2 separate regions of the Homo sapiens genome follow, and region 2 is linked to region 1. The links are contacts of gene promoters, found by promoter capture Hi-C in blood cells and fetal thymus (Javierre and others, 2016). All regions are on one chromosome and are shown on one strand. The core of a region is centred on a gene start or on the middle of the fragment in contact, and the rest is flanking DNA. Distances in the headings are between cores, read along the strand shown.

Region 1 (4,565 bases), core at 1,461-3,960:
CTGAGCAGCTTGGACCAGGACACTCCACAGAGGTAGAGACAGGACCACTCCGGTGCCAGAGATGCCTCATTGTATTTTCAGGTGTGTGCACAGAGGAAGGGAGGCAGAGGTGGTATCTCCCCAGGGCTGGGTCTCCTGAGCCTTGGAAACACCTTCTTGAACTTGGAGAAAGATGTACAGTAGCAAGATGTCTACCTCCAAGGACGAAGATGTTCCTGACAACAAGGTGTTACGAGGCCTCCGTGTGAGAGATTAGGGTTGGGCTGTGCGGAAGGCAGGGAATTTTGGCCAAGATGCCTTTTGAAGTTAATAATTTTAATTGCATCCCACAGTAAACATTTGAGTGTTGAGTGTAAACCAGAAGTGGGTCTGATGGGATGAAACCAATCAGGGGCAGGTCCATATTCAAACACCATGTATCTCTGACAAACGGCCAGCCTGGCTCAAGTCACAGAAAAGTTTGGTCAGCCACCCCCAGAAGAGAGACAGAGGAGGCAGCACCGCAGGAAGCCTCCGGTTCATCATCCCAACCCCATCCAGTATGCACCCGGCAAATGTTTATTGAAGACCTACTATGCGCTAGACATTACTGGGAGGCAGCAGTGAACAAGACCAACCGGGCTGGCCCTCACAGAGTGACATCCTATGGGGAGTGGGGACTATAAGCTAGTGACCAAAAACAGGCCCCAGAAAATGTCAGGGAGTGCCAAGTGTGGCAGGGAGATAAACGCAGTGGTGAGATCCAAAGATGGAGACCCTCCCTCCAACGGGGAGCTCACAAGGTTGTCCCTCCTCAGTATCCTGACATGGAAGGCAGGTGGGAGAGTCCCAGTGAAAGGAGCCCCTGAAGAAGGAGGTGGGGCGGGGAAGGGCATTCCAGACAGAGGATGCAGCCTGTGCAGAGGCCTGGAGCTTTTCACTGGGTTCGCTTCACAGCTTCCTCCCTCTGCCCTCTAAACCACTTAGGCCACTGGCTTATTTAGGGCAAACTAAGGGTGGAGGTCTGCTGTAACCCACCCTTGAGCACACACATATGTGTGGTGTCCACACTGAGGAGCTAGGCATGCAGGGAGGAGTTTTAACCTTGGAGAAAGAGGTCAATTCACTCAGGAGGGTGTCCATGCCTGGACACCCGCTCAGAGATACCACGTCTTTCGGGCCAGCTCTACCTGCTGTGTGGCACAACCAGCTGTCCGGCAGCTGTCCCCTGGGCCCTGCCACAGCCCGGCTGTCTGCCTCCAAAACACGCACTCCAGCCCAGGCTGCCTCTGGAGGGTAGAGGAGGGGGTCCAGGCAAAGGGGACAGTCTGATCTGCCTTCTGAAAAGTCAGTCCCCCACCGAACCTAATAGGAGCCTTGTGCTAAGCTAAGCCCTCCTGGACTCCTCGACCCGGAGTTTGCCCAGCTGTCCCCAGTTCCCTAGCCTGCCTCTCCCAGGAGGGGGCCAGGATACAGAGGGCTCCCTGGCGTCTGGCAATAGGGGTGCCTCTGGGCGGGTGCGGCTTTCCGGGAGCCCGCGGGACTCCCCCACTCCCCACTCCCGTCTGGGAGGTTCGGCGTGGGTTGGCGATGGGGGTGGAAGGCTCCCGGGTCTGTGGATCTGCGGCAGGAGGGGCGGCTGGTAGCAGGAGTCCCTGCATCACCCCCACCCCCAGGGGCGTTCCGGGGTGGGTGGGGGCATCTAGTGCCCCGCGAAAGGAAGAGGAGGAGGGGGCGAGCGTGGAGATGAGTTCAGGAGCGGAAAGCAGCGCGCGCCCCTCCGACCGGCAGCGGGGGTGGGCGCCTTCCCGGGGCGCGGGAGCGTCCCCAAAGCCGCGGGGCGTCCGCAGCGGGTAGGAGCTCTGCCTTGCACCTCTCCACGGCGGGGCGTCCCGCACGTCCCCCCATGCTGGTCCCCGGCCCCGGAACGGCGCGCGCCCCCTGCCCCGGAACGTCGCCCCTAGCCAGGCGGAGCGCTGGGAGCTGGGCCCAGGCGGCGGGAGGAGGGCGAACGGGTCCGGGGCTCGGGCCTCGATGGCCGCGCCGCCCCGGGGGAGCCGGAGCCGAGCTGGCCGCCGCCCGCGCGCACTCACCAAGCCCGCTGAGCTCCTCCTCGCACGAGTACCAGATGCCGGTGTGGAAATTCCTGAAGAGGAAGCGGTCGTCGCCGGTCTCCCAGCTGTAGAGCGCGCCGCCAGGGGGGCCGTTCCCCGAGGCGGTGGCGGCGGCGGCGGCGGCGGCGGGGGCGGCGGTGCCGTTGGCCGTGGCGTTGGCGCCCGAGTTGGGGCAGTTGGCGCGCCCGCCCTGGCCGCAGCCCGGCTTGGGGACCCGCTGCGTGCCCTGGCACCAGTGCGTGGTGAGGAAAGCGGTGGTGGCGAACAGCAGCGCCAGCAGGTTCAGGGCCACGGCCAGGAGCGCTCGGCCGCGGCGGCTAGTCTTCATGCCGCCCGCGCCGCCGGGACGGGACTGCACCGCCGGGGAGCTCCGCGCGCGAAGTTGGCAGCTGGCGCCCCGCGTCAGCGGCCGCTGCCCGCCGCGCCCCGGGGCTCGGGTGCCTGAGATCGGCGGCGGCGGACGCGGCGCGGGCCCATGCCCCCCCCAACCCCGGGGTGGGGGCGCGGCGCGGGGGGCGTGCGGGGCGGGCTGGCGGGGCGGGCGGCGGTGGAGGAGCGGCTACGGCGCGCCCGGAGCCCGGAGCGCGAGTGCACCTCGGCTAGGAGCCGCTGGCGCCTGGCAGCGGCCACGGCGCAGGGACGCGCGCCCCTCCGTGGGGAGACACCTGCAGGCGGCCGGCGACACTGTTCCGGAGCCCGCCCGCACGGGGAGAGGGGGCCGCCACGCCGGGCGCGGGCGGGGGCCTGGGAGTGGAGGGACGCCCCCGAAAGAAATCCGAGCCAGGGTGAGGGTCTGAGACGCAAGGAGAATCCCAGGCAAGGCGCTCCTGAGAAAAGATCCCCACGGCGGACGTGGGGCAACAAAACCCGCCGGGAGCGGGCATCTCATGAGACCCAGAGAGGCCCTGCCCCAGGAGACAAGGGCAGAGCCTGCTGGGGCTCCCCAAGAGGGACACGGACCAGCAGGACCCTGTCCCAGAAGGGGATCCCCAAAAGGACCCCCGCACCAGACCCTGAGAAAGGAGTTTTTCCAAAGGTTCTAAACAGCAGAGCCTGCAGGGCTTCCCACAGCCAGGGAGCTGCAAGACCCCCTGGATAAGACAACCCATGCTGGACTTGGAGTGGCAGAATCTGTCAGGAGGCGCCCCTCCTGGAGTATTGGGTTATAGGGTTTGAAACGTTTTTCTGTCTCCTGGGTGTCACCTCCAGCATCTGGGAAGAGCTCCCCTCCAAGGATGAAACTGTCATCTGGGCTCCCAACCATGGCATGCAACTGCAGGAAGAGTGGCAACAGGGTACCCCAGACAGCCCACTGCACCCACCTGAGATCCCAAACAGCAGAACCCTAGGAGGGCCCATGCCGGCCACAAAGTTATTGCAGCTACCAGGCAGTGGTGCCCTACAGGGGCTGCCAACCCTGCTCACATGCACACCATGTGAATGTGGGTAGAATCTTCAAGATTCGGGTGGGGGCAGGGTGGCCAAACATACTGACTTTGGGATCAAGCATATCTAGGGCTTGACCAGCTGTGTGGCTTTGAACAGGTCACTTACCCTCTCTGAGCCTCAATTTCCATAACTATAAAAAAGGGAGGACCCCCCCCCCTTCAAGGTATATCACAGTGGGCTGCTGTAATGAGATCATGGCTGCAAAAAGCATTTGGCACACAGTAGACTCAATTAATAATTCACTGTTACTGACATCTGAACCAAGATCAGTTGACCAAACTCAGACAAACCTCTTCAGGCTCTCCTGTGCAACGTGGAAACTGTGTGCAACCCCGTCCCCACCTCTGCTCTAAGATGACCACGCTCCCTGAACTCCCTTCGCGCTGCACAGCACTTACTGCCCAGATGCTCAGGGCGTGCAACAATTAATTGCATGTTGATTATAAGAGCTCATTTGAATTCTGCCCAAGCTGAGAACTGCTCCGACAACCCCCGGCTTGCCGAGTGGCAGGCCTTGCAGAATTCAAGGTTAACCGATTATGAATTGCCTTACTCCTGTGGGTGAGCCGGCACCCACTGTCAGCTGCTGCTAATCTGCCGGGGGGTAGGTGAGAGGAAAACGTTGTGGGCAACGTCCCTGGTAAGAGCAGGCACGAAGGATGGCCAAGGGTCTCCAAACTTGCTTTTAGAGCCCTTTTCTGGCACTGTGCAAGAGATTCTCAACTATTTTGAAAGAGAGGACCTCCATGTGATAATGGTGGCATTGAGAGTATTGGTTGACAGAGAAAATACATCATCGCCAAACAGCTGTAAAGAATCCAGTAGCATCTTTTTTTTTTTTTTTTTTTTGAGATGGAGTCTCACTCTGTCGCCCAGGCTGGAGTGCAGTGGTGCAATCTCAGCTCACTGCAACCTCCGCCTTCTGGGTTCAAGCGATTCTCATACTTCAGCCTCCCGAGTAGCTGGTATTACAGGCGCTTGCCACCACGCCTGGCTATTTTTCATATTTTTAGCAGAGACGGG
Region 2 (4,176 bases), core at 571-3,070, 150 kb before region 1:
GCCATTTCCCTTACTCTGCCCTCTGTGTCTAATTTATCTTCCTCTGCCCTCTCTTAAACATGTTTTTCTTTCTAAATTTTATGTATTTATATTTTTTTTTTAGAGACAGAGTCTTGCTGTGTTGCCCAGGCTGGAGTACAGTGGTGCAATCACAGCTCAGTGCAGACTCAAACTCCTGGGCTCAAGCAATCCTCCCACCTCAGCCTCCCAAGTAGTTGGGTTGCAAACCACCATGCCAGCTAATATTTTTAATCCTTTTTTTTTTTTTTTTTGTAGAGATGAGTTCTCATTCTGTTGCTTAGGCTGATCTCAGACTCCTGGCCTCAAATAATCCTCCCATCTCAGCCTCCCAAAGTGCTGGGACGGCAGGCATGAACTACTGTGCCATGCTCTCTCCCTTTTACCTGAAAGTATCTCTCCAAAAATTCATGGGCACCAGAATTCCCATCTCAGGCTCTGTTCCCAGGGAAGCCAGCTTATGACACTCATTCTTTGTGTGTAAAATGGGGGCACCTCCCTCATGGGGTTGTTAAAAACTAAAAGAGTTAATATACTCCTGTATTTGCTTAGGACACGATGTGATACATCATAAGTGCTATATAAGCATTGATCATCATTAATGGAAAAAATAAAATTAAAATCACTCAATGCAAAAAAAAAAATGTCTAGAGTGGGGCTATATCAGTTAAGAGTGTCCAGGCAAGATGTCTATGAGGAGGTGACATTTGAGCTAAATCCTGGTAGGAAGGAGGAAGCTAAATAAAGAGTTGGGTGAAGATAAATCCACACACAGCAAGTGCAAAGGCCTGAGGTGGGAGCAAGCTTGCTTCGTGCTTTTTTTCTGTAATCCAGAGGCCAGTGAGGTGGGAATTCTGGTCAGAGGATTTTAAAGAAGCCGGTGGCCCAATATAATTTGCGTTTGCAGTAGATCACTCTAGCTGCTGGGTTGAGAATGGATCTGTTGGCTTCACAAGTATTTCCTGATGGCCTGTTTTGTGCAAGGTGATGTAACAGGTATTCGGGAGGATTTGAAGATGAACCTCATGCAGTCCTGACCTTAAAGTGCTCAAATGTAGAAGAGGCAGTGAGCTGGGCGTGAGGACTCTACAATCAAGAAAGTGCTGTGTGCTGAGAGAGAGGGGCGGGGGGAGAAGCTGGCATAGCTCCAAGGATGTAGGGGGAATGAGCAGGACCCTAAACAATGACAGGAATGTAGCTGTGGAGAAAGAAAGGGTGTTCCAGGTAGAGAGGAACAGAATAAGCAAAAGAGGAGACTTTGTTGAGGGCAGTTAAGAAACCCAATCAACCCAGAGCATAGGAGGCCTTCCTCTGAAGCCAGAGACAGCAACTGGGGCCAGATGGCAGAAAACCTAGGGTGCCAGGTGAGAATCCAGCCATTCCTCCCAAGGCAGTGGGGAAGTATTCCCAGAGTTTTAAAGAGATGAGAATTAAACCATCTTTTCTTTAGCCTGCTGAATCTAAAATTTATATCAGACTTCTCTTAGTTGCAAGGGATAGAAATACAACCACGACAGGCATAAACAGAAGAATAATTCATCAGCTAAAAAGCAGATCTGGCTTCGGGCACAGCTAGACGGAGGACTCGGTCCTTTTCTAACTTTTGGCTCCATCTTCCATGCTGTGGCTTGGGTCTCAGACTCCATGCCATGGTAAGAAAGTGGCCGGAAGCCAAGCCAGCTCTTGGGACCAAAAAAAAAATCCCTGATTTTTAGCAAATCCTTCTACTGTGGCAGATTTTGAATGCCAAGTTGAGAAGAAATGTGTGAAATCAGCTTTCAGGGCCACAGGAAACAGCCCCAACACACCTAGACCCACATCCAACCACCTTCAAATCCACTGGGCACAGCTCTCTTCCCCTGAGGTTGCAGCAGACATTTCATTGTATTGCATAACCTCTGATTTGGTCATGAATCCATCAACCCATCCACAGGGGAATGTGATGCTTTGACTGCCGTAGGCCTGGGTCTCCTGCTTCAACCTCAGTCACAAACTACATGGCCTGAGCATAGAAAGAGCTTGACACCCAGCAGAAAAAAACAACAACCAGAGTATGGTTACCAGAAAAAGGGATGCTGGCTATGGGGCAAACACAACAGATTGTTTTCCTATTAAGATGGTTTGAGGGCCTGGCGTGGTGGCTCATGCTTATAATCCCAGCACTTTAGGATGCCGAGGCAGGTGGATCATTTGAGGTCAGGAGCTCAAGACTAGCCTGGCCAACGTGGCAAAACCCTGTCTATACTAAAAATACAAAAAATTAGTCAGGCATGGTGGCGGGCGCCTGTGGTCCCAACTACTCAGGAGGCCAAGGCAGGAGAATCACTTGAACCTGGGAGGCGGAGGTCACAGTGAGCCAAGATCATGCCATTGCACTCCAGCCTGGGCGACAGAGCAAGACTCCATCTCAAAAAAAAGAAAAAAAAAAAGAAAGAAAAAGAAAAAAAAGAATAAAGAAGATGGTTTGAGGAGGCTGCGAAGATCCAACAAGAAAATGGGCAGGAAGAATCTTTGTAAAATGGGAAGCCCTGCAAAGGCTTGCTGAACATTTTTATCCTTGGTCTGGTGCTCTAAGTTTCTGATACATCTGATGTAAAGTACCATGAAATTCTATGGGAGACACCTCTGGGAGTGTGTAGTCTTAAGATGGATGATTCATCATTCCCGTTCCTTTACCCAGGGCAGACATTGCTAATCGATCATGGCACTCTCCCACGGAGCCTGGGAGACGCCTCACAATCCTTCTCCACACAGCTGTCCAGGCAGGCACTACCAATTGAGAATAGAAGGGATGAAGGATTAAAGCTTTCCATTCTCCTTAAACTTGTCTGATTCCATCATGAGCCACAGTAGAAACAGGCCCAGAGATGAGTGCAACTTGCGCATATCACAAAGGCAGAGCCTAGGGATGCCCAGAGTCTTTCAATTCTCATTCAAACCTGTTCGTATCCAAGATGACTCAATAAGGAGGAAGGAGTCAGTACAAAGAAGGTTCCAGGGCATGGGGATGCCCAAAGTGGCAATGACTTCCCACTGCTGTTAGAAAAATCTCCCAATTCCCTATCATGGCCATCATGGCTGCCCATGATCTGGTCCCTACCTTCCTCTCTGACTCCATCTCCTACCATTCTCCCCTTACCTTCCATGCCCCAACCATTCTCTCTTTCTGTTCCTCAAAACATGCCAAGCTCGGTCTCACCTCAGAGCCTTTGCAGGATCTCCCTACGGGGATGACAAAGACATTCACCAGAAGCTCCAGGCAAACACCCCTCTGACTTGGTCCACACCCAGGAGAAGGAGAGCTCCATTTTTTCAGCAAATGCAGCAGAACATCTAGCTTCCTAGAATCCAGTACTCATCATGGCAGCCAAGAAGATGGAAAACTCCAATTGGCCAAGCCTGGACCGTGTGCCCAGCCTTGGAGATAGAGCCAGCCTCACCCTGACCACACAGGCTGAGAGTGATGGAGACATGGGTGCCCAATGGAGAAATTACATTACAGGAGGGGGAGTCGGCTCAACATTACACCCTAGTTGATAATATGGAGTCCATATCATTGGATTTTCACCTGAAAGGAGGAAAATAAGAGACAGAGTATTTAGAAAAACCCATATCTTTCAATGCTTATTTATCATCCTGGGAGTAAGGGCCAAAAGTGCAGCAGTAAGTGATTTATCCCATCCCTCTTGATGAGGATCTATCCCATCCCATGCCAAATGGCATGTTCCGAAGGGGGCTGAATTGAAAAAAGATTATGGAATCTTGACTCGGGGGAAGGGGCCTTGTGGCTCGGTCAGAATGTCCTCCTTTGAGGCATACCTTCCATGAACCCATTGTACATTAAGAGGACCAAAATTTAAAATCTTCAATTGTCATATTTTAAAGTATTCCCAAGCTCTGAATAACCAGAACTCACATCCAGGCTCCTAAAACATTTGGACTTTGTTGTGCACGATCAATTAACAATGTCTGGTGTGGGCGAAGGTGGTGAGGAATCATGGTGTGCCTACTGTATCTTTGCTGACCCTAGTCTGTGGGCTTTTTTGGACTGTAGCATGGCTGCCTGAGGCCAAAAAGATCCCCACTTGGACCTGAGTTGTCCGCACACCAGGCTGACTTAATTAAAGTGAGCAGGATTACTAAGTCATTATTTAACGA

The links. The method cuts DNA at HindIII sites, captures the fragments that hold promoters and counts their contacts. A CHiCAGO score of 5 or more calls a contact.
Region 2: a fragment that was not itself captured here is called in contact with the fragment with the promoter of GSG1L in region 1 in 2 of 17 cell types (M2 macrophages and megakaryocytes); the score reaches 6.0 in M2 macrophages.

What each region holds. Positions count from the first base shown.
Region 1 is chr16:28,061,004-28,065,568 of GRCh38, forward strand. GSG1L (GSG1 like) reads right to left here and starts at 2,711. Exons shown (of 7, transcript NM_001109763.2): 1 at 2,073-2,711. The coding sequence starts at 2,421. The HindIII fragment of the contact is 8,058 bases long and covers 1-4,565 here.
Region 2 is chr16:27,916,232-27,920,407 of GRCh38, forward strand. All of the region lies in intron 2 of GSG1L (GSG1 like), which reads right to left. Among named protein-coding and RNA genes, the nearest start is that of GSG1L, 150 kb to the right of the region's middle. The HindIII fragment of the contact is 2,001 bases long and covers 821-2,821 here.